7 separate regions of the Homo sapiens genome follow, and regions 1, 2, 3, 5, 6 and 7 are each linked to region 4. The links are contacts of gene promoters, found by promoter capture Hi-C in blood cells and fetal thymus (Javierre and others, 2016). All regions are on one chromosome and are shown on one strand. Each heading gives the region's core, a stretch centred on a gene start or on the middle of the fragment in contact. The rest is flanking DNA. Distances are from core to core; before and after follow the strand shown. Region 1 holds the start of ZNF839 (zinc finger protein 839). Region 2 overlaps VRK1 (VRK serine/threonine kinase 1). Region 3 overlaps PAPOLA (poly(A) polymerase alpha). Region 4 holds the start of SETD3 (SET domain containing 3, actin N3(tau)-histidine methyltransferase). Region 5 overlaps AK7 (adenylate kinase 7). Region 6 overlaps LINC02299 (long intergenic non-protein coding RNA 2299). Region 7 overlaps VRK1 (VRK serine/threonine kinase 1).

Region 1 (3,402 bases), core at 534-3,033, 2.8 Mb after region 4:
AAGGGCTCCACCTGTTTTTGAAAATTCTACAGTGGAAACAGCTACTAGTTCTGACCTAAATAAGAAGCAGCTCAACATCTACAGACCTTGGTATGTGCCCAGGGTGTAGTAAAAGTTCTCAATAAATGCCAGCCGATGGCGCTGCTGCTATTATAAGCAAAGTTAGGAGAGCCTGGGGCAGCTGACACTTAAAATAGACATCTGTACACAGGATGGATGTCACATCTTTTAATAGTCGTGCCAGGCACGTTGTTAGATGCAGGGACACAGCATGGAGGAATCGGTGGAGGTTGCTGCCCTCAAGTTTCCTGAGCTTGAAGGGGTTTAGAATATGCCACGGTGGCATGAAAATTATTTTGAGCAGAAGGCATGTGAATTCCTGAAATCTGGTCGGGTGTGGTGGCTCACACCTGTAATCTCAGCACTTGGGAAGGCCGAGGCGGGCGGATCACCTAAGGTCAGGGTTTCAAGACCAGCCTTACCAACATGATGAAACCCCGTCTCTACTAAAAATACAAAAATTAGCCAGGCATGGTGGCGGACGCCTGTAATCCCAGCTACTCAAGAGGCTGAGGCAGGAGAACCGCATGAACCCAGGCGATGGAGGTTGCGGTGAGCTGAGATTGTGCCACTGCACTCCAGCCTGGGTGACAGAGTGAGATCTTGTCTCAAAAAAAAAAAAAAATTGTGGTAAGATACCCATAATATAAAATTCACCATTAAAAAATAACACGGAAGGGATCATCGTGAATGCAATGTGAGTATTGATGAGGATGGTGGTGATCTTCCAGAACCTTCTCTGACGCCACCCAGGCCGCCAGCCTTACTTTACCGGCTTCGGCGCTCATCATACTGTGCTGCAAATGCCAGTTTCCTCCTTCCCCCTTGGGAAGTTTCCTCCTTGGGGGTCGGCACCTAGACTGTATACCCCCCAGGGCGGAAACAGCGGTTCACCCACCAGGTGCTTAAGAAGGGTTTGTGGACCAGTGGACCTCCTGCTCTCCCTGGGGAAAGGAGCTGGGACATGTGTACACACCTGCAGCTACAAGATTCGGAGGGCGCACAGAGCCTCAACCGTAAGAAGGAGAGGCGATCAGGCTGAGGAAGATGGGGCAGTGGAGCTGGATGGATAGAGAGAGGGTGGGTTCATTCATTCGTTCACTCATTCGTTTATTCATATTCATCCATCCATCATTCATGCCCTGAGCGTGCGTTGTGTTCTGGGCAGGGCCTGTGCTGGGCACCGATTGTGTAATATATCATCTCTCCCTTCAAGGTGCACCCAATCTGGGTGGGTGGGTAGAGAGAAGCTACGGTGACAAGGCAAAAATTTGGGAAACACTCTCGTTAACAATTCAAACTGTGGTCCCCTCCCAGATGTATAAATCCAAATGTTTAGGGGTGGGCACAGTACTCTGCATCTCCAGACAGCATCCTCCGCTGATTCGGATGCATGATGACGTCAGAACACTTGGATATTGTGGTAACTTTTGGGCCAGGGGCTCTGAAACCCCGAAGACCTCCCCCTGGGAGATCCGGGACAGCTCCCAGAGAAGGTGAGTCTTAAACACATCCGTGACAGGCAATAAGGAAAATAAGGGGGGTCCGCTCTGCTGATCAGCCCTAAGAGCCGCGGCGGTTGTCGGCTGGGGCGGGGCACTCCACGACTTTCCCGGCCAGACACGGTCGCCTTCCTAGGTGTCTTGGCCTGCGAGGCACTCGTAGCCCGCCCCTCTCCTAGGTGACGTACATTGGAGACGCCGTCGCTCAGCGACCCGGGTTCGAGTCCCCGCCTCGGCCGCCATGGCGGATGCGGAGCCGGAGGCTGGGGGCGGCAGCGAGGATGGCGGCGGCGGCGGCGGCCCGGCTCCTCCGGGCCAGAGCGGCAGCGTCGCACGTGTGGCCCCGCTGGGCCCCGAGCAGCTGCGGCAGGTCCTGGAGCAGGTGACGAAGGCGCAGCCGCCGCCGCCGCCGCCCCCCTTCGTGCTGCGGGACGCGGCGCGGCGGCTGCGGGACGCGGCCCAACAGGCCGCCCTGCAGCGGGGCCGGGGCACCGAGCCCCCGCGCCTGCCGCGCCTGCTCCCGCCCCAGGTGAGGCGTCGGGAGGGACGTGGGGAAACTGAGGCCCGAAGGGGGCCGACGCCCCGCGGCGGGGTAGCTGCTTGTCCGGGGAGGCCAGTATCCGCCCGGGTTAAGACTCAGGGCGTCCCCAGGCTGAGCTTCTTAGGGACGGCGTTCGGCCCCCACCTGTCACCACCCTGGCATTTTCACCCCAGGAGCCTCACTCTAGGAGCGGTTGCTCACGCTGGGCCCTGTGCCTGGAACGCCCTCGTGCCTTCTCTGCCTTCACAGCCCTGCTGGGGGCTTTTGCGTGCTCCCTAGCTCTTCTTACAGGCCTTTCACCGCTGGTTCAGCCTTTGTGGAGCACTTAGAGACCGTGTTCCCAGCACTCCCCACTATGTGCAGGAGGTGAAGCCTTGAACACACTTGCTGAAGAACGAACATAAGGCAGGTTCTGGGATTGACGGGGGCTGCTTTAGAGTGGGTGGTCCCGTAGGCCAGACACTGGAGCTGAAACATAAATGAATTAAAAGGAACCAACTTAGCTTTTCAGTTGTAAGGTGCCAAGGCCCAGGCTTGGAACAAAGTCAAGCACAATACACTAGTTCGCTGCAGGACTTAACATCCTGGGTGATAGTGACTGATTTGTAACCGCAGTACCCAGCACAGTGCCTGATACACAATGTTTGGAATATGTGAAAGCACTCTGTATACTACAAAACATCCTTTCCCAGTGGGTTTATTTCCTGGGCCACACACCTTTTGGTTGCTAGGGGGGTGATAACTAGAAGACGGTCGCCCAACTCCGGAGGGTGAAGCATAGCGCCTGAAGCCAGAGGGCCTACACGGCATCTGTAAAATTCCACCCCATTTCAGCGCTGGGGTTGTAAACAAAATTAGTCTCACCCCAAAATTGCCAAAAGAAGACAGCTTTTTCCACTAGAAGAAACGGGTTAGGGAATAGAATCAGGAACCTTCACTCGTTGAGTTTTTTTGACTGATGTTAGCTGCTTAGGGTTGTATCCAGTTAATCATCAAGACTGGAGAGTTGTCTTGCTAAGGTTTAGGAAGACCAGTGTGATTCTGTCCAGATGCCACACTATCACTATCTAGAGGTGTGACCTTGGGTAAGTCAACCTTTTTGGACTTTGGTCTGGGTCAGAAGGCTGCAAGGTGCCATCTGGGGGCAGCTATCTGCAAAGCCTCTGCTCTGCGCCCGGCGCTGTGCGGGGCCGCTCAGTTTTCAGCAGTGTTTTTGTACCGGCATTTTGCAGGTGGGAAACAAGCTCAGGGAGGTTGCGTGGCTTTGCCCAAGGTCCCTCAGGTGTGGCTGCTCTCCCT
Region 2 (3,387 bases), core at 381-2,880, 2.7 Mb before region 4:
GTTCAAACGTCTGTCCATTCTGAGCTTTCACGCCTATGGATAAAAGGATGTCATCATTAATCCCATCCTCCATGGGTATATAAGAGCTTCTTGGCTCTTACAGAAGTAGGCAATTGGGGACAATCAGGATAATTGTTCTCTTCTTCATCACAGGACTACTTCAAATAATCCTTTCCTCTTTCTCCTAGCCAGCTAGGTTTACAGTGAGTACAAACCTGTTCAGACATTGTCCTGATACTTGTGGAATATGTGCTTGTTCATTTCTTTTCCAGAGTGTGAAAGCTTTGAAAGTCATTTGATGTTTATGCTTTGGACAGTGACATATAAAATTGGGTCAGGTAGATCTAGTTCAAATATTGACTGCTGTGTGACATTAGAGCAATTCAATTTAGCATCAAATCAAGGTAAAATAATACCTATCTTAGAGTTGTTGAATTAACTGCAAACTGTATACATGAGTCATTTGGTGTAATGTCTGGCCCACAGTAAGTGTTCAATAAATGTTTGTCATCATCATCATTTTCACTTTGATATACCTGAAGGTATTTTTCTCTGGAGAGGTATCTGAAACAAAACTTTTTTCAATTCACTCTCACTTCCCATCATTCCCCTCCCTCCCTCCCTCCCTTCCTTCCCTCCTTCCCTTCCTCTCGCTCTGTCAACCAGGCTGGAGTGCAGTGGTGCGATCATAGCTCACTGCCACCTTGATTTCCTGGGAGCAAATGATCCTCCTCCTGAGTAGCTGGAATGACAAGCCACCATTCCTGGCCCACCATTCTTGTGACATCATCACATGGTCTGGTCTATGATGAAATGCCTCCAACGACAGAGAACTCACTATCTCTAGGGCAGAATTTCTCAACCATGGGACTGTTGACATTTTACATGGGTCACTGTTTGTTCTCTGCACTGTGGGATGTTTAGTGGCATCTCTGGCTACAGAGACAAAATCATCTCTGGTTGAGAACCACTGCTCTAGAGACAGCCTATCCTATTTTTATTAAAGTTTTGACCATTAGAAAATTCTTTCTTACATTGAGTGGAAGTCTACTTAATTTCTTCTACTCACTTCTGCCTTTTGGAGAAATGTGGAACAGGCTGAATCCCTCTTCCACGTAACATCCTTTCAAATATGTGAAAATAGTCATCAAGTATTCTCAGTCTTTTTGATTTGAAACATCTCCAGTTCATTAGCTATTCCTTACATGGCATGGTTTCATGTCAGTTTACCACATTGGTGGCTTTCCTCTTTTTAAAAAAATTTCATTTTAAACTGTAGTGCTTTGAATTGAATTCTGTGCTCCAGACATGGCTTGATACGTGAGAAATAGAGTTGTATCTCTTGTTCTAGATATAACACTTTTCTTCTGTGAGTTAAGGGAAGAATATCACCTTCCTTCTTCTACATAATTTTATTAATATTAGCTATATCCTTTTGTGACCACATCATACATTGAACATAAAGTTGAATAAAATCCCTGCATCTATCTAAGCTATGTCTTTTCATCCTGTTTGTATGCATTAGTTTTGGGGTCCAACCATGGGAGCTTATGTTTGTCTTGTTAAATTTCTTTTTATTGAATTTAACTAACTGCAACTTTTAAAGATATTTTGGAATCCTAGTTCTTGGTTTAATTGGCAGTTTCTAGCCTAAAAGAACATGTATGTGATGATGCTATGCACTGAGATTGGAAATACAAGAGAAAGAAGTCACTCTCTCTGTCTCTCTCTTTCTCTGTCTCTCTCTCTGTCTCTCCCTCCCTCTCTCTCTGTCTCTCTCCCTCTCTCCCTCTCTCCCTCTCTCTCTCCCTCTGTGTGTGTGTGTGTGTGTGTGTGTGTGTGTGTGTGTGCATGTGATTGAAAAGAGATTGAGTATGGAAGCCTGGGTAATACCAATATTAAGAGGCAGCTGGGCAGAAAGGAAGTAAGAAAGGAGACCAAGAAGTGGTGGTCAAAAAGTTGGGATGAAAATAATAGGAGTATCTTGTAATGCTGGAGTGACTCTGTGTTAAGTACTGTGGTAGATACTTGAATAAAAAATGAATAGGACATGGTCCCTGCTTTCTGCCCCTGTTTTTGTTTAATTGTTCAGTTTATGGAACTGCCTAGTCAGTCATTCCTGAAGACTTGGAAGTCATCCTTTATTTCTCCCTCATACCCTTGCCTCTTTGGGTTACCAAGCTCCATTGATTAAAAAAATTTTTTTGAAGTGTAACAAAAAGGTGCAGAAGCATCAAGCTCAATTATTTTTAAAGTTTTACAAAGTGAACACCCTGTAATCACTACTACCCAGATCAAGATACTCATTTTCTAGCCCTCAGAAGCCCAGATTATGTGGGGATATCTTGCAGACAGTAGTTACTCCCACCCAAGGTAAACACGATTCTGACTTACATAACTATAGTTTTACCTGGTTTTGAACTCATGTGTAAATGGAATAATGCCCTCTGGACTTTTTTTTTTTTTTTTTGCTTGACTTCTTTTACTCGATGTTGTGTCTGAGATTCATTCATGTTGTTGCATGTAGTTTGTTATTTTTAAAAATAGCTCTGTAGTTGTGGTTATCTATCCCTGCATAACACACTAGTTTTGATTATTGGTTATTGCGTAACACACCACTCCAAACTTACTAGTGTAAAATAACAACCATTTTATTATGCTCATGGATTCTGTGGATTGGGAATTTGGTGGTTATGGCTTATCACTGCCCTACAATGCTTGGGGTCTAGAATCATTTAGAGGCTTCTCCACTTTCCTGTATGGTACCTTGACTAGAACGTCTAGAAGACTGGGATCATCTGATACTGTTGACCAAACCTACATGTGGGGTCAGGAGGTTTTGGCTTTTCACAGCATGTTGGCTGAGTACCTTGACTAGAACGTCTAGAAGACTGGGATCATCTGATACTATTGACCAAACCTACATGTGGGGTCAGGAGGTTTTGGCTTTTCACAGCATGTTGGCTGAGTGTCCAGAGGAAGCTTCCTGAGAGTGGCTTATCTTCAGAAGTCATATAATCTCACCTCCACCATACTCTATTGGTTGACAAAGACACAGCCTGCCTGGATTGAAGGGGAGGGGACATAGACCTCATGTCTTTATGAGAGGTGTGTCAAAGAATTTGTGGTCATTTTTAAAAACTACCACAAATTACATAGCAAAATTCATTTATTCATTCCATTTTAGGTATTTGAATAGTTTCTATTTTGAGGCAATTATGAACAATGTTGCTATAATCATATACTTATGTATATGTATGTATCTTTTGGCATACTTTTATATTCATTTTGGTTGGGTATATATGTAGGAGTAGAATTCCTGGTCAAAATGTATATGCATCTAGCTTGCTTGCTTGCTTGCTTTCTTTTTTTTTTTTTTTTTTCTGA
Region 3 (3,608 bases), core at 1-2,500, 3.0 Mb before region 4:
CTCACCTTCTTAAGGCAGAAGCCAGTTCTGGCTTGATAACAACTTTGAAAATGTTTTGGCTCATCAGAACATTCTATTCTTGGGTAACTAAGTCAACTTTAGGTTAACATTACAATTAAATTTCATCTTCAGTTTTATCTAGGCAAGTTTATAAAGCTAGCTTCTTTCAGGTAAAATGAGACCATTTGGCTTCTTAGCTAGTTCTCATTTTGGGAGGGTGTGTGTGTCTCTTTTATTCTGTATGTTCAGGGTTCTAATTACCTAGCAGCTTTTAAATAATTGGACAATGCCAGTTTATGATTTACAAAGCAGCAACATTATAGGAGGTAATTGGTTCCCCTAAAAGTTGGTTAAAGTTGAGGCTCAAAAGAATACCTGACCAAGGTCATAAAGGTACTAAATTGTAGATTGGGGCTTAAATCAGCTCTGGATTCTGTGTTGCATTGTCATTCCAGTACACTATACCATCTCCTGTGGACACTGTAGGGAACCATGTGTGGTTAGCTCAGTTGGAGTCTTTATTTATTTTTGAGACAGGAACTCACTGTTGCCCAGGCTGGAATGCAGTGGTGTGATCATGGGTCACTGCAGGCTTGACCTCCCAGGCTCAAGGGATCCTCCCACCTCAGCCTCCCAAGTATCTGGGACTACAGGCACGCACCACCATACGTGGCCAATTTTTGTATTTTTTACTGTGACAGGGTTTTGCCACGTTGCCCAGGCTGCTCTCAAACTCCCGGGCTCAAGCAATCCCACCTTGGCCTCCCAAATTGCCGAGATTACAGGTGGCTCATGCCACCATGCCTGGCCAGTTGGAATCTCTGTATAGTTTCAAGTAGAATTAATTTTCAAGCTCAATTTTTTTTGTGTGTATAACATGTAAATCTCAAAGTATTTACATAATAAAAATGTATACAAAAGTATATAAACAAAAGTAACATATAGTGTATACTTGTAGTATACACAGAATGTAACATACTATAGAACCTGAGATCTTGTGCATTGCTTAATGATTGGATATATTCTGTAAAAATGTGTTATTTTTCAGATTTTATTGTGGGAACAGTGTACTTAACACAAACCTAAATGGTATAGCCTGCTATGCACCTAGGCCTATGCACCAATGATATGGCCTGTTGCTCCTAGGCTATAAACCTGTGGCAGCATGTTACTGTACCGAATACTGTAGGCACTTGTAACACATTAGGAAGCATTTGTGTATCTAAATGTATGTAAACACAAAAGGAATAGTAAAAATACGGTATTATGCTGTTATGGGACCACTGTTATATGTGTGGTCTGTCATTGACTGAAGAATTCTGTTAACGTGGCACACGACTACTTTCAGTGGCTTTATTTGCATATATATTCTTATTTAAAGCCATGCACAGATTTGCCACTTAGACGCCGCTTTGTTGTGGCCAGTACCTTTTGTGGGAGTTGCTTTTTTTTTTTTTTTTTTTTAATCTTTGGATTGTATGTAGGCCTGCTGAACTGTATAGCAATCTCATTTGTGGAAACCTAAGGATTTGGGAAAGAAAAAATAAAGGCATTCTGTTAGATTTCTTTCTTCCTCTTTTGTTACAGAATTATTTTTCAAATTTTTATTCCCTCTATATTTTGTCCAGAAATTGGATTCTTGGATTTTACGGCAGTTTTTATAATTTTGAGGTTGATCAAGAATAGTGTTTGTCATTTTGATCATTAGAAACATTTAAATTACATTTCCTGAAATTAGTGTCTGTAATACTATGACTTACTATAATCTTGACTATTTTCTGATACATTTTCACACTCTTTCGTACTTTTTCAGGTCCTGTTTCATACTTTATTAAATTTACATTTCTTTCATTTTCAAGTTGTACTTGGCAAGTTGATGTAGCAGTGTACAATTTGGCTTTTTTTTTTTTTTTTAAGTTTCTCCTAGCCATATGAGAGAGAGGGACACAACACACACGCGCGCGTGCGCTTGTGCGCAAAGGGGCAGTTGGAAGTACCCTTTGGAAGTGAGGAAAAATAACTTGGCCATTGTAGTAATTGAACAGCAAGTACCCTTTCTCTGCATAAGCAACCTTGAATTTTCAGTTTGGCCTTGGGCTTTATCATACATACTTTATTCCCCTTGAGCATAAACAAACTATTAACATCATCTTTGAGCCTCTGCTGCTGCTTTACTAAATATTGGCTGGATGGCCCACCTGCAGTACGTTTTTAAGAATATAGTGGGATCTAAATATTTTTAGTACCACTTACACAGAACACCTTACGGTGGGCCAGTTAACCATCGTTTTAATTTCTTAGCAAATAGATTATTTTGGCGATAATCTTGCCTGTAAGCTACTATCATGCCGTATACCTTGTGAAAAAGGAGATTGTATTATTTTGGCTAATAATTAATATTTAATGCACATTGAGATACTTTAGAGAGATCCCTTGTATCTTTTCTGTTCATGTCCTTTGAATGAGCACATTAAGGTTAAGACCTTTAAACAGCAAATTCTACTGTGATGAATTGTTACTTTAAATAAGTTAACTGTAGTTTATCTGATTGGTTTCAAAGAAGAATATTTAGCAAGTTTGGCTTTCAGTTTTAACTCTATCATGCAAATAATAAAGTGTTTTCTGTTAAGTAGTAGCTATAAATTGGGGCAGTTGACTCTGTTAATATCATGGGCCACAACTTGTTCCAAATGCCTAATATCACTAGGTGGGGATTAATCAGTAGTGCCTGATGAGTTTTGTATAAATTGAGACACAGGCGGGCTGTGGTGGCTCATGCCCGTAATCCCAGCACTTTGGGAGGTCAAGGTGGGAGGATTGCTTGAGCCCAGGCGTTCGACACCAGCCTGGGCAACATAGTGAGATCCTGACTCTATTAAAAAAAATTAAATTGAGATGCAAAGTACTTAAACATTAACTATTTAAGGAAAACACCAATGGAAATATGATGTTCTGTCCTTTTGTGTGTTAGTCGTCTGCCTAGATTACGCCTCTCCTTTCCGATCATTTACTGTGTACACCTTCTGGCATAGTCATGATTTTATCTTTGTTTCTTTAATGGTTTTTTTCCCAAACTTCTACTTTGCACTTGTTGTTTAAGGATCTGAATCCCAGACTAAATTTGAGATTGTCATTGAAAACAGAGACTACCTTAAGCATCTTTGTATTTCTGATTTTATTTAGCATTGTCTTTTATGCATATTTAGGAATTTGGTACATTTCAACCTCATAAATACTGTACTTTCTGACAAAAGGTAGATGAGAAAAAAGTGCTTTTAGGAAAATTGAGTTGATGTTTAATAACTTGGCCGCCCTAGCAGCTTCCTGGAGCAATAAATAAAGCAATATTTGCTTTGGATTTACTATTTCTAGCCACAGAGTATTGCACTAAAAAGCTATTTTAAAAATCTTTGTTTATTTCACAAAATAGTGTTTTAATTAGCATAAACTGAGTTTTTAGCTAATAACCAAAAGCTAATTATTGTTTTAATTTGAAGATTTGTTTGGTGCCCCTTGCTGCCATTATAGGGGGTTATTTTAGCCTCCTTGCTATAACTATTCTAATTTAATGGTGAACGGTAGAATTAGTTGACTTTCAACTTTTGCAA
Region 4 (3,227 bases), core at 57-2,556:
GTTCAGTTTTGAAATACTGGCAAGGTCATTTCAAGAAGAAAAACGGGAGAGGGAGAGGTATATTTTACATAAGATAAAATTCACACTTTTCAGTGTCCGGTTCTGAGTTCTGACAAACGCATTTATAGTGGCCTCATCAGCACCACAATCAGGCTACGAAGATGGGGTAACTCTTCGAGGATTCTTAAAAGCAAAATTGATTTGTCAGCATACTTTAAAAGTATTTTTGCTTTTGAAACATCACCTTATTTATTTAGAAAAGCAAAATAACACGGTCCGAGTGGTCCTAACCCGCGAATGCCTTTGCAACACTGAAATGCCCTCCTCCCAACACCGGCCGGGCAGGGGTGAGCCCCGCAGCCAGGGGCGCGCGTCACTGTCAGCTCCTTTTCCCAAGTGGAGACCGGGAAAAGACAAGAGTTGCATCGCCGGGCTGGAGCCACGAGGAGGAAGAGTTAACGCCGGAATGACAAACTCTAAAGCACCGAATTGCCTCTCCCTAGTAGGGCACTGCGCGTGTGGAGCACGGCCAGGGGCGCGTGGGAAGAAAGACGACCTATTTCCTACGTCCGTCTTCCTAACTGGACGGCGCGGGAGGAGGCGGGGGCTGGTCCCCGGGCACCCTGGTGGGCACCGAGAACTCGCAGAGAGGAACATAAAACCGCACAGCCTTCCCCGAGCAGCGGGGTGACGGGAGGAAGGAAGGAAATGGGAGCGCGACCCGGCCGCGCGCAGAGCCGAGCCGACTAGCGCGAGGGGCCCGGGCCCCACCCGAGAGCAGGCGCGAGGGCCGGGGACAGCGGGGCAAGCTCGGGGAGAGCGCTGCCTGCACCTGGCACCACCTCGAGACCGGGTGGCGCGGGGCCCGGGAGCGTGGGCGCCAGAGGGGACAGGGCAGCGGCGAGCGCGCGCCTCTCGCCCCGCAGGGCGCCCGGGCAGAGGCCGACCGGCGCCCTCCGACCCCGCCGGGCCCTCCTCGCCCTGGCCCCCGAGCGCACACCTGCCCCTTCAAGCCCCGGGGCCACAGCGGCCGGCGGGGACCCTGGCGGGGGCGCGGGCCGGACTTCGGCCGAGGGGCGCTGGCCAGGGCGAGGGACGGCCTCGCAGAGCTCGGAGACGCGGCGCGAGTTTCCCCCGCGGGCCGCGCGGGCGCAGAGACCGCCGCCAGCACTCACCTGCCCGCTTCCCCTAGCGCAGCGGGAACGACGTACTCCGGCCCGGACCCCGCCGTCCGCCTCAACCAACCCCCAGGCGGTGGCGGCGGTGGCGGCGGCGGCGGCCGGACGGGAGGGGCGGGACGGCAGCCTGAGACGGCCCCGCGACCGCGGCCCAACGCTTCTCCTCCCGCCCCGGACCCCGCCCCCGGGCCGCAGCCGCCGCCGTTCATTGGCCCACGCTTCGGACGCATGGGCGCGGCCCCGCCCCGCCACCCAGCCGGCGTTCCGTTCGGGGTCCTCCCCAGCCAGTGGGCTGGCAGCTCCCGGGGGCAAGAGCGGCCGGCTCAGCCGCCGCCAACCACGATGTCGCAACTGGCTGCGTTCGCCCCCGCCAGAGCTTTGATTGGACGAATCTCGACCCGGGCCCCGCCTACGCGCCCAAGTTCCGTTAGCAGGTTCGGTTGCTCCAGAATGCCTTTTCGCCCCGAGGGGCGGGACCGACGGGATGGGCCCTGTGGCTGGCTCCTCCCTCTGTAAGCAGCAGCCACTGACCCGCGGGGCGGGCGGGGAGGAGAGCGGCGGCTCGTTCCTCTTTTGAGAGCTCTGCTTTCTTCCCATTGGTTGACAGGCATCCTACTCTCTCCGCCCCTCCGGTCGCTTGGTGGCGTCTCAGGACGCAGCGTGATGACGTAGGTCCCCGACATTCCATATACAAGATGGCCGCAGTCGGCAAGGAGAGACGTCGCTGAGGGGCTTGCCTGAAGCGAGGGGTGAGTGACCCACCGACTGAGGGCAGCGCCGCCCACCTCCCGCGTATCTGGAGGTCGGAGTAGGTTATGGCCAACCGCCGCTATCCACTGGCGGAGTCTCTCTTTCCGGATTCTGCCTCCCTCCGCTAACCTCCGGTACACATTGAACTTTGCGGGCGACGCGGGGTTGTGGGGCGGGCGTGTAGAGAGGGTCTGAGGCGCCGGGGCGGGGCAGGGAGGCCGGACTCACCCTAGAACTGGTAGCGGCCCTCGCACTGGGGGGCAGTCAGAGTTGGGGAACTTTCTAGGGGTTGGGCAAAAGGGGCAGCGGTGTTAACCGCGCACAGTCTCACAGCCACAGACTTCTCATATCTCCCCGATTATTTCGCGGCGTATTAGTCCCAACCTTGGCTAGGCCTGAAACTTTTTGGAGGTTGTTCCATGTCTAGGGTACTCCGACTTTGGAGTTTTGGAGAGCCACGTAACGAGGGTGCGGCTAAGATGAGGAAAAGGCACTTCCGGGATTAGATTTCGTTCTTGCCCAGACATCGTCTTTACGGACCCGCTCCTGGTGGTTGATTTGGTTTGTTATGAGAGAAATTGTTCTTTAGAAAATTGGAGCGTAAGTCTAGAGGTTATGTGACAGCTCCTAAACGATTGTCTGCCCAAGATAGGCTCGGTAATGCTCCCTAAATTTAGACTGCCAGTTAAACGGAGCTTTCGCTAAGTCATCTGAGGTTAGGAACTATTTCTAAGAGCATTTCTTAAGGGTGGTCTTCTGTGTTTTTAAGAGAAACTTGGTGATGTTTGTGTATCTCGATCTAAATCGCTGTTTACAGATACCTAGCACAATGCCTTGCAGTTGTAGGTGCCCGCTAAAGGTTTGTATGAATGATGTTGCTAGAATGAAAGCGAGGAGCTTTCAGCGCCTAGAACACTGCCTGACGTTTAATAAGCCCTCTGTATTGCTGAATGAAAGAATGGATGGATGATGGTAGTGGTAGTAGTATTGATAGACATTTGGATTAAAGTGCCCTTAGGATGCTTACCTGTTAAATAATCTTGACTATGAATATAATAATTATCCAAGATTGTCTTATTCAGAGTGACCACCGCTGGTGTCTTTTAGGGTTTTTTTCCCTCTTTTATCTCATTTCGATTATATTGTGATGCATTATTCAAGCATATTAGTTGATTTCTGGGCAAATCCTGTTTAAATTTGTTCCATTTTGAAAATGTAGTTTGCACTAACAAGCAATAAAAACTATTCGAGTTGTTAATGAGGTTCTTAAATTTTAAATGCTGTTTCTAAAATTGAATG
Region 5 (3,316 bases), core at 605-3,104, 3.0 Mb before region 4:
TTTTAAATTGTAGGCAGAATATCTCTTCAAGAACAATCCTGAAGCACAGTGAAACTTGAAAGATCTGGTATTATCTACCTTTACAGAACCACAGATCACTTATTATACTTTGAAAAATTGCTTTGAAAAATGCTTTTCCAGTTCTTAGAAAATTCTTTTTTTGTAGACAAATATTCTATAAACTAGAATCTCTATTAAAAGCTATATGACATGACTATGTCATTAAAACTATATTTGAAATGTAAATTGATAAAGACATTTGTGCATAGCTCATGAGACAAATACTGATTTAATATTTTATTCTTTAGTCAGATCTAAATATACCGCTTCTGTACACTAATGTTTATAGGTATTTATAGCATGAAGAAAATCAGACTATATATTGTAGACTATGTATTATTCTAACATGTAGGCTAATTTACATGACTTGTTATCGCCCCAATAACAATGTTATTAGAAATGGAAATAAATTGAAGTGATTTATGCCTGTTGACTCACAGTAAATCAGACAAGATTGGTGCCTGTAAGGTGGCTTTTTTTTTTTTTTTTTTTAAATGAAGCAATGGTTAGGGAAAGGTTGCTTTGAGTTCAGGGTCAGGATCCCAGACAATGAATCGGAGAGAACTGTAAACCTTTAGGCGGAGAAATCTGCATAACAGGATAATTCCAATCTTTGTGATAAGTGAGAAGTTGCTAAATATTTTCAACACACTTTATAACATAGGCATAAGTTATCAATCCTATAGTCTTTTCCAGTTCTAAAAATCCCATAAGATTCCTAGAATTACCCTAAATGAGAAATTAGTTTAGGTTTAATGGCATATGTATTTTATCTCTTTAAATAATGTAACCTAATATAACTGCCCGACTTTTTATTTGTGCTAAAATACATGTAACATAAAATTGACCACTGTAACCATTTTAAAGTGTATAATTCAGTGGCACTAAGTTCATTCACAATGATCTGCAGCCACCACTATCTAGTCCAGAACTTTCTCATCACCCCAAATGGAAACCCAGCACCTATTAGGCAGTCACGCTCCATTATTCCCTCCCCCCAGTTCCAGGCAACCACGAATCTGCTTTCTGTCTCTATGGATTTACCTATTATAAATAAAACCATATAATGGGTGGTCTTTCGTGTCTGGCTTCTTTCACTAAGCAAAATGTTTTCGAGGTTCATCTATGTCATACAATGTGTTAGTACTTCATTCCTTTTCATAGCTGAATACTATTCCATTGTATGAACATACCACATTTTGTTTAATTGTTCATTTGTTCATGGACATTTGGGTTGTTTCCACCTTTTGGCTACTGTGACTACAACTGGCATGAACATTTGTGTGCAAGCTCTTATTTGAACACAGGTTGTCAGTTCTGTTGGCTAGATACCTAGGAGTGGAACTGCTGTCATATGGTCATCCTATGCTCAACTTATTGAGGAACTGCCACACTGTTTTCCACAGTGGCTGCACCATTTGACATTCCCACCAGCAGTGTATGAGGGATTCCAGTTTTCTGCATCCTCACCAACACTTGTTATTTTCTGTGTTTTTATTTTTTTAATGGTGATCATAGTGGGTGTGACGTGGCATCATATTGTGACTAAGAATCTTTTAATGCACTTGCTTCCATTTCGATGTCTTCTCTGGAGAAATACACAGGCATACCTCATAGATATTAAGGGTTTGGCTCCAGACCCCCACAATAAAGCTAATATTGTAATAAAGCAAGTCACCCCAATTTTTTTGTTTCCTAGTGCATATGTTATTTTTCCACTATATTTTACACTATCTGTTAACTGTGCAATAGCATTATGTCTAAAAAACAAGGTACCTATCTTAATTTAAAAATACTTTATTGCTTCATGCCTGTAATCCCAGCACTTCGGGAGACCGAGGTGGGCAGATCACGAGGTCAGGAGATCGAGACCATCCTGGCTAACACGGTGAAACCCCGTTTCTACTAAAAATACAGAAAAATTAGCCAGGCGTGGTGGCAGGTGCCTGTAGTCCCAGCTACTCAGGAGGCTGAGGCAGGAGAATGGCATGAACCCGGGAGGCGGAGCTTGCAGTGAGCCGAGATCGTGCCACTGCACTCCAGCCTGGGCGAGAGAGTGGGACTCCTTCTCAAGAAAAAAAAAAAATTATTGCTAAAAAATGCTAACAATAACCGGAGCCTTCGGTGAGTTGTAATCTTTTTGTTGGTAGAGGGTCTTGCCTCAATTCTGATGGCTGACGACTGATCAGGGTGGTGGCTGCTGAAGGTTGGGGTAGCTATGGCAATTTCTTAAAATAAGACAGCAATGGGCTGGGCACAGTAGGCTCATGCCTGTAATCCCAGCACTTTGGGAGGCTGAGGCAAGCGGATCACCTGAGGTCAGGAGTTTGAGACTAGCCTGGCCAACATGGTGAAACCCCATCTCTACTAAAAATACAAAAATTAGTTGGGCGTGGTGGCGTGTGCCTGTAATCCCAGCTACTTGGGAGGATGAGGCAGGAAAATCACTTGAACCCAGGGGGTGGAGGTTGCAGTGAGCCGAGATTGTGCCACTGCACTTCAGCCTGGGTGACAGAGTGAGACTCCATCTAAAAAAAAAAAAAAAAAAAAAAAAGACAGCAGTGAAGTTTGCCACATTGATGGACTCTTAAAGAAAAATTTCTCTGTAGCATGTCACGTTGTTTGATGGCATTTTACCCACATTAGTACTTTTTCAAAGTTTGAGTCAATCTTCTCAAATCCTGATACTGCTTTATCAACTAAGTTTATTAAATATTCTAAATCCTTTGTTGTACATTTCAACAGTGTTCACAGTGTCTTCACTAGTAGATTCCATCTCAAGAAACCACTCTCTTTGCTCATCTATAAGAAGCAACTTCTCATCTGTTTAATGTTTTATCACGAGATTGCAGCAATTCAGTCACATCTTTTGTCGTCACTTCTAATTCTAGTTCTCTTTCTATTTCCATCACATCTGCAGTTACTTTATCCATTGAAGTCTTAATCACTTCAAAGTCATCCAAGAGGGCTGGAATCAACCTCTTTCAAACTCCTGTTGATGTTGTCATTTTGACCTCCTCCCATGAATCAGAAATGTTCTTAATGGCATATAGAATGGTGAATCCTTTCTGGAAAGTTTTCAATTTACTTCGCCTATATCTATCAGAGGAATCACTATCCATGCCACCTATAGCTTTATGAAATGTATTTCTTAAATAATAAGACTTGAAAGTCAAAATTACTCCTTGATTCATGGGCTGCAGAATGTTGTGTTAATAACATGAAAACATTAATTTCTTTATACATCTCCATCAGA
Region 6 (3,413 bases), core at 640-3,139, 2.7 Mb before region 4:
AAAATAAAAACAATCAGCCAGGCATGATGGTGCATGCCTGTAGTCCCAGCTACCTGGGAGGCTGAGGCAGGAAAATTGCTTGAACCTGGGAGGTGGCGGTTGCAGTGAGCCAAGATCGTGCCATTGCACTCCAGGTTGGGCAACAAGAGCGAAACACCGTCTAAAAAAAAAAAAAAAAAAGAAGCTTTACATGTTCAGTGGCACTGACTCAAACTGCTTTTCTGGCTACAAAAGAATTCTTACCTCTGTCCTTCTCTCTCCCTCTTTTCCCTCCCTTCATTCATTCTCAGCATGTGCCCTATCTTTATGTTCAGTCTGATTACCCATAGAAATTTTCCCTACTGAGCTGATTAATCAAAATACCGAGCCATTCATACTACGCTTAGGAATTCCTGATCATGCTTAAAAATAGTCAGTAACAGATATGTACAAATAAACCCAGCTGTAAACGAGAGTGATTATTGGTGATTTAATTCACTCCAGGATCACAAGGGGGTGAAATCATATGGCATGGATGCGTTTTCAATGATATATTTTTGCTACCAGGAGAGATATTAATACATTATACACGCTCAGGCATTGGTAAATCAGCCATACCAAATGATTCATTTATTCATTCAACAAATATTTCGTGGGTGTGCCAGGGGCTAGGTGAGCTCTCTGCCCAGGAATCTTCGCCTAGTGCAGAAGACAAACCACCAAATATGCAATTGTATTTGGATATTGAATTTGGTGATGGGTGCTTTAAAGGAAAAACGCAGGGCACAGAGACAGAGGCAGTGGAGGGCAGTGGCAAGGACATGGGCTATAGGGTCTGTCATCCCAAATCACGACCAGAGGGAGGCTTGCTAAAAGAAAAGCACTTTATTTGGGAACAGAGCATTGGAATGGGGAAATGCATGCTCTGGTAAACTACGTGCATACTCAGGAAGGTAAAGGAAGACAAAGGTTTTTAAAGAAGAAAAATGAGGAGGATTACACAACTGTTTGGAAATAATTATCCTTGGCTACAAAGATCAATAACAAGGGTGATGCCAATCTGAGGTTAGACAGGCAATTGCTGGGAAGATGTCCTTGCAGAAGGATTTTTTCTGCAATGGCCTTTGCGCAAGATTGTGGTTTTTGCAGTCTTTCGTGATAGCTTTTAGTCAAAGACATACAAGCAAGAGGAACTTCTCTTTATGGCCTTCCCCAGCTGTCTTTGTTAGGATTTCCTTAATATCCATGACTTCATTTTGATTCTGACAACTTCGACAGGCCCGACCAGGTGGGTTTGAATCCCAGCCCTAAACTCATTAACTATGTGCCTAAAACAACTACTTGACATCATTGCATCTCTGTTTCTTAGTTCCTTAGAACTTGGACATAGCCTTTCACCTTCAGTCATGGTCTTTTTGCAGGGTTTCAATGGACAGCCTGAAATGTTTATTAAGCTCCTCTAACTTGGCAGGACTCAAACCCCAAACTTGGTCTCCCCCAACAGTGGGCAGTTGCTGAAATCTGTGCACTGTTCTTTTAGCCTTCCAATTATTGTTTCCCCCTTGGGCTCCTTGAAATCTTGTTCATGCATGTGCAATTCACTAATCAGCCTGTGATTTTGGGGTGTATATATGGGGGTTTTAGGGCTGCCCCTCTTGGCTACCGCCATTGTGGGATGTCTGCCTTCCCTCAGTTTCCAATTGCTCTAGCAGTTCAGAACCCCATCCTCTGACTCCTCAGGGTAATAAAACTGTGGTTTTCCTCTTTTTTTTTTTTTTTTTTTTTTTTTTTTTGAGATGGAGCCTCACCCTATCGCCCAGGCTGGAGTGCAATGGCGCAATCTCAGCTCACTGCAACCTCTGCCTCCTGGTTCAAGCTATTCTCTTGCTTGGCCTCCCGAGTAGCTGGGATTACAGGCTCGCACCACCATGCTCGGCTAATTTTTTGTGTCTTTAGTAGAGACGGGGTTTCACCCTGTTGGCCAGGCTGGTCTCGAATTCCTGACCTCATGATCCGCCCTCCTCAGCCTCCCAAAGTGCTGGGATTACAGGCGTGAGCCACCGCACCCAGCTGGTTTTCTTCTTGAGTTCTAGCCACCCTGTGGCATGCAGAGTGGGAAGTGTCCTCAGTAGAAAAGTCAAATAACCAAGGCGCTCCCCCAGTGTGGCTCCTTCTTTCAAGGGTCAAATCCCCTTTGGTTTCTGCCTGCTTTTGGCTGCTGTCCTGTGGGAGGTTAGTATGATGGAAGCTACTTCACCATTACCACTGACTCTGATTTTTTTTTTTTTTTTTTTTTTTTTTTTTTTTTTGGAGACGGAGTCTCACTCTCTGTCGCCCAGGCTGGAGTGCAGTGGCGCGATCTCAGCTCACTGCAAGTTCCGCCTCCCGGGTTCACGCCATTCTCCTGCCTCAGCCTCCTGAGTAGCTGGGACTACAGGTGCCTGCCACCACGCTCGGCTAATTTTTTGTGTTTTTAGTAGAGTTGGGGTTTCACCGTCTTAGCCAGGATGGTCTCAACCTCCTGACCTCGTGATCCACCCACCTCGGCCTCCCAAAGTGCTGGGATTACAGGCGTGAGCCACCGCGCCTAGCAGGATTTTTTTTAAATCTGCACTCACTTCTTAGGGTAGCTCATCCGTCCTCATGAATGATCCACTCCCATCTCCAGCAGGCAACTAGATGTTAATAATTCCTAAGTTTTCATCTCCACCCCCTGATATCCACGTAGATTTGAACATAAAGATCCAAACATAAGCTGGGCGCGGTGGCTGACACCTGTCATCTCAGTTATTTGGGAGGCAGAGGCAGGAGGATCACTTGAGCCTAGGAGTTCGAGACCAGCCTGGGCAATAGAACAAGATTCCATCTCTTCAAAAAATTCTAACATAAAGATAGAGAAAAGGGCCTTGAACACTTAGAAATTGGAGCCAAAGAAGAAATGTTAGCATAAGGAGTTTTCGTAGAGAAAAACAGAAATCAGGACAAAGCAGTGTTATAGAAGCCAAGAGAAAAAAGTACTTGAAGAAGAAGAGAATGGTCAATTGTGGTGAATGTTGAAAGAGCCCTGGTGAGATAAAAACTGAACAATGGTAATTGTAATTAGTACCACGTGGTCATGGGTGGCCTTATCAAGGATGCTTTTGGTGGTGTGAAGGAGGTAGATGCTGCGTTAGAGACGGTTAACGTATGGCTGGAGATGAGGAAGTGAAGACAGAGATCCATCCAAAGAGAGAGGCCGGAGCTAAGCAGGTGCCATCCCTGGAGAGTCAAGAGATGAGGGTAGCAATTTCTCAAATGCACTGAGCTTCTTTCATACTTCCATGCCTTTGCATATGCCCTTCTCCCTGCCAAGAATGCCCTTCCCATCCCTATTTGCTTGAGTCATATCTACTCCTTTTTGAGAACCTCACTCAAGGGTCCAGCCTTACCCACCA
Region 7 (3,741 bases), core at 209-2,708, 2.7 Mb before region 4:
CACTGGTGACCTCAGCAAGGGTTATTAGAGAGGAATCATGAAGGCGGATCTCGGAGTGAGTTGGATAAGTAGGTGAAAGGAAATATTGGCAAGTACAGACGATTATTGAAATGGCAAGTACAGACATTTGGCATTGAAAGGGAAAAGAAAGGATGATAGCAGAGATAGCAGAGGGGGATTAAAAACATTAATTTTTTTTTTTTTTTTTTCCCTCTGTCGCCCAGCCTGGAGTGCAGTGGCGCCGTCTCGGCTCACTGCAAGCTCTGCCTCCTGGGTTCACACCATTCTCCTGCCTCAGTCTCCCGAGTAGCTGGGACTACAGGCATCCACCACCACGCCTGGCTTATTTTTTGTATTTTTAGTAGAGACGGGATTTCACCATGTTAGCCAGGATGGTCTCGATCTCCTGACCTCGTGATCCACCCGCCTCGGCCTCCCAAAGTGCTGAGATTACAGGTGTGAGCCACCGCACCCGGCCAAAAACATTAATTTTTTAAAATGGCAGAGCCATAAGCATTTTTAATAGCTGATGGGAAGGATCTAGTTGAGGGAGACATTGAATATATTAGAGAAGGATTAATTAATAGTGTAAGTCTTGAGAAGGTTGGAGGGGATGGGATCCAAAGCAAAGGTGAAGGACTTGATGTTTGATAGGAGGAGGATAGTTTCTTTCAATGTGATAGGAGAGAAGGAAGCTAGGATTGGCTTGAAGTGGGTGCAGGTGGTTTGTAGGTGTGGCTCTTAGAAAGATAGGGAATTCCCATCTGAAGTTTCTGTTTTCTCTCTAAACTAGAGTAGGTCATCTGTTGATAATTATGGCTTAGGAAGGGGAATTAGAGTTTTGAGGAAGAATAAATAGAGTTTGACATAGTCATTGTAGAGGGTGGTTGCTGGACTTTTGAGGAATGACATTGTCCTTTGCAGTTGGGTGATGTATATTAAACATAAAGTTAGATATCTGGTAGTTGGGGAAAAATACTAAACTTTTTTGCTGTTTAATTTTATGGATTTAGTGAATTCCTGCTAACTACAATGTATTGTGACTAAGACATTTCTCATATACGAGGAGCTTATAAGCTTATAGGGAAAGTTATTTGTCACATGCAATAAGAGGTACAAACAGTACTGAAACTTCAGGTCATATCTGACTTCAGAAGAGATAGGTCTTTAGGTATGGGGAAAATGTCAATCAATGTATAAGGAGAGGTTAAATGAGAGAAAAGGCTTTGTGCTGGGAAGAATGGAGATAAAAATATGTTGGTTCCATGTTAATAGAATGGTGGAGTCCAGTTTGTCCAGAATTATCCTTGAATCAGAGTGTCTCTATACAGTGTAAAACATATCAGAGAAGTTTATGACTTTAAAGAAAATTTCATAAAAATACATGACCCCCTAAAGGAGTTTACATGCAGAACTATTTTGGGGAAAATTTATGAGTAGTCATTCAGTATATAACGAGCTTTATTCAGCATTGTAATTTTCCAGTTTGTGTATGATGAATTCATAGAGCTCATTAAGTGTAAGTGTCATTGTTGTGATTCATTCAAGCCTTTTTCCTCTCTTCAGCAGAAGGTTAAAAAAAAATTCCAAATTTGAATCCAGGACTTGAAGAATGCCAGTTGTCTAAATACAGTACCATATTGTGATAAATATAGCTATTGAAATTTTTAAAAATCTATTCACAAAACTTTATTTTAATATTCATAGCAGAACTTTTTTTGGAATGTTATCTGAAAAACAGAGGACCATTTTATCATCAGAGCTGACTATTAATTAGGGTATTGTTGCAGATATAAAAGTTGATCTGCCACTGAAATTCTATTTGAATATGTATAGTTCCAAGCTTGCTTTGTGTATTTAATAACTTTAGTACCATAATTACTCTGTTTACAATTAAATTTTGGTGAATATGCTAATATGGAATATACCAATGAGTGATTTCAGCAAAGGGCAGTATTGATTTGCATCTTGATGTGCTTTTCAGTTGCATCTGCATTTCATTTAATATCAGAGGAAAAGAAGTGGTCAGATTATGTAATGCTAAACTTTTTTTTCTTTGAAACCTCTCTGTTGCATTGGCTACTATAAAAGTAGACTTGCATAGAGTCAGAGGGGCTGAAATTATGTGGAAAGATTTAATTTTGTTAAAGTTTGTGCCTTTCGGTATATTCATTAATAGAAACCTTAATGCAAGCATCGGTTTCATTATTAGAAGAAACCTATAATGTACTAAAGTGATTGTTTAATTCTAATTAGTATTTTAAGTTCTTCAGAAAACTCACTAACTTACTGAAGCAAATACTTGTGATTATTTTATTTCTTTGAGCAGGGACTTCTGGTTTTAAATAATTCCTCTTTTAAGAAATTGCCTGAAAAGCAACAAGGAGATTGAGAAACAGTGATTTCATATTCTGAGAAACTGAGAAGCTTCTGTAGCCCTGAACTAGAAAATAAGGAGCTGCCAAATTCAGTGAAGGTCAAACAGGGTATGGGAGGATGCTGAAAGGGAACCTGAGACACAGATGTCAGGAAAGCTGGCAGAACTGTGTTCTCTAAAGAAAGGGGCACACCCTGAGAGGCACATTAATAAGCCTTTGTCTGGGAGAACAGGAATAGGTGTTGGCAGGCAGGGGCACTAGGGAACTTTATGGTGTGATGAAAATGTTCTGTCTGGTGGTCGCACAAGTGTATGTACGTTTGTAAAATTTTGTCAGTTTACTTTGTGCAAGTTAGTAATTTATTGCCTCTCAACTCCAAATTCACCCCTTTTTGCTCTATTTATATACTCGAGCCAGACCTTTTAAATATTTTTTCTTTTCCTGGACAGTGTTAGATTTTGTCAGTAGAAGGTGAGGAAGGGATACTGCAAGACTTAGCAGAGAAAGTGCTTCTCTTGTTGCCATGTGCTTGTTTTTTTGTTCGTTTGTTTGTTTTTCTTAATCTCTTAAGGTGTGGCTGTCAGCTCTACTTACTCTCCTGTAAGCTTCATTAGCACCCTGGTAGGCAGCTTCTTGCTCCCACCAGTATCTCGTGGGCAGCAGATTCCTGTGGATAAGCTGTAGCTCACTGGCCCTACAGAGAACTACCCTACCGCTCAGTGGGTCACTGCCACAGTCTGTCCAGTGAAGTGTTCCTTTCTTGGGCACTCTCCCTTAGCCTTGGAGACAGTAACTGCTCCCTATATTTGCTAGTTCCATATTCCTTCAAATTGTCTTTTACATCTATTAGCACTTGACAACTTTTTACAAATTAATAATTTTTTATTTATGTTACATTTTCTTGTTTTAATTGATTGTTTGTTTTCTAGCTCCTGAATGGACACTGACTGTTATCACACACTTGTGATTTGTGTACCTTACTTACTGTGTTAATTTTACATAAATAAACAGGATGAAATAATAAGTATACTTCTTGATTACTTTCTATAACATGAACCAATTGTTTAAACACCAAGATTGGGATATAGAATGCTACCAGATCCCTAGGAACCATCCACCTCCAGCCATTTCTTCTGACCCTTAGTCCCCAAAGTGATATCTGCTGTTTGACTTGTATCACCATTGATTTGTTTTATTATTGAAATTCATGTAAATGGAATATAGTATGTACTCTTCTGTCTGGTGCTGCTTTTTCTTAACACAGTGTTTGGTATGTCCATCCGTCTTACTATATTCATTTTCCTGTTGTTGGACATACAGGTTTCCAGTTTGTGGCTGTTGTGAATAAAGCTGTTATCATTCT

The links. Contacts are between HindIII fragments. The CHiCAGO score rates a contact against its expected background, and 5 or more counts as called.
Region 1: a contact is called between the fragment with the promoter of ZNF839 here and the fragment with the promoter of SETD3 in region 4, in 1 of 17 cell types (fetal thymus). The highest score is 5.3, in fetal thymus.
Region 2: a fragment that was not itself captured here is called in contact with the fragment with the promoter of SETD3 in region 4 in 3 of 17 cell types (naive CD8 T cells, total CD4 T cells and naive CD4 T cells); the score reaches 10.9 in naive CD8 T cells.
Region 3: a fragment that was not itself captured here is called in contact with the fragment with the promoter of SETD3 in region 4 in 13 of 17 cell types (naive CD4 T cells, naive CD8 T cells, fetal thymus and 10 more); the score reaches 21.5 in naive CD4 T cells.
Region 5: a fragment that was not itself captured here is called in contact with the fragment with the promoter of SETD3 in region 4 in 4 of 17 cell types (naive CD8 T cells, total CD4 T cells, erythroblasts and 1 more); the score reaches 10.0 in naive CD8 T cells.
Region 6: a fragment that was not itself captured here is called in contact with the fragment with the promoter of SETD3 in region 4 in 7 of 17 cell types (total CD4 T cells, naive CD8 T cells, M1 macrophages and 4 more); the score reaches 6.9 in total CD4 T cells.
Region 7: a contact is called between a fragment that was not itself captured here and the fragment with the promoter of SETD3 in region 4, in 1 of 17 cell types (fetal thymus). The highest score is 8.8, in fetal thymus.

The regions. Positions count from the first base shown.
Region 1 is chr14:102,317,963-102,321,364 of GRCh38, forward strand. ZNF839 (zinc finger protein 839) reads left to right here and starts at 1,784. Exons shown (of 8, transcript NM_018335.6): 1 at 1,784-2,091. The coding sequence starts at 1,804. RefSeq lists silencers at 1,844-1,943, 2,004-2,193 and an enhancer at 2,294-2,403. The HindIII fragment of the contact is 5,518 bases long and covers 1-3,402 here.
Region 2 is chr14:96,806,206-96,809,592 of GRCh38, forward strand. The region is part of intron 1 of VRK1 (VRK serine/threonine kinase 1); the gene reads left to right. Among named protein-coding and RNA genes, the nearest start is that of VRK1, 11 kb to the left of the region's middle. The HindIII fragment of the contact is 2,700 bases long and covers 281-2,980 here.
Region 3 is chr14:96,508,522-96,512,129 of GRCh38, forward strand. All of the region lies in intron 1 of PAPOLA (poly(A) polymerase alpha), which reads left to right. Among named protein-coding and RNA genes, the nearest start is that of PAPOLA, 7.9 kb to the left of the region's middle. The HindIII fragment of the contact is 6,374 bases long and covers 1-3,608 here.
Region 4 is chr14:99,479,553-99,482,779 of GRCh38, forward strand. It overlaps SETD3 (SET domain containing 3, actin N3(tau)-histidine methyltransferase), which reads right to left and starts at 1,307. Exons shown (of 13, transcript NM_032233.3): 1 at 1,176-1,307. It overlaps CCNK (cyclin K), which reads left to right and starts at 1,857. Exons shown (of 11, transcript NM_001099402.2): 1 at 1,857-1,927. RefSeq lists enhancers at 438-939, 1,748-2,117 and silencers at 788-987, 1,098-1,557. The HindIII fragment of the contact is 7,554 bases long and covers 1-3,227 here.
Region 5 is chr14:96,488,292-96,491,607 of GRCh38, forward strand. It overlaps AK7 (adenylate kinase 7), which reads left to right. Exons shown (of 18, transcript NM_152327.5): 18 at 14-1,136. The coding sequence ends at 52. Among named protein-coding and RNA genes, the nearest start is that of PAPOLA-DT, 12 kb to the right of the region's middle. The HindIII fragment of the contact is 3,884 bases long and covers 1-3,316 here.
Region 6 is chr14:96,782,863-96,786,275 of GRCh38, forward strand. All of the region lies in intron 3 of LINC02299 (long intergenic non-protein coding RNA 2299), which reads left to right. Among named protein-coding and RNA genes, the nearest start is that of VRK1, 13 kb to the right of the region's middle. The HindIII fragment of the contact is 3,415 bases long and covers 183-3,413 here.
Region 7 is chr14:96,824,475-96,828,215 of GRCh38, forward strand. All of the region lies in intron 1 of VRK1 (VRK serine/threonine kinase 1), which reads left to right. Among named protein-coding and RNA genes, the nearest start is that of VRK1, 29 kb to the left of the region's middle. The HindIII fragment of the contact is 766 bases long and covers 1,076-1,841 here.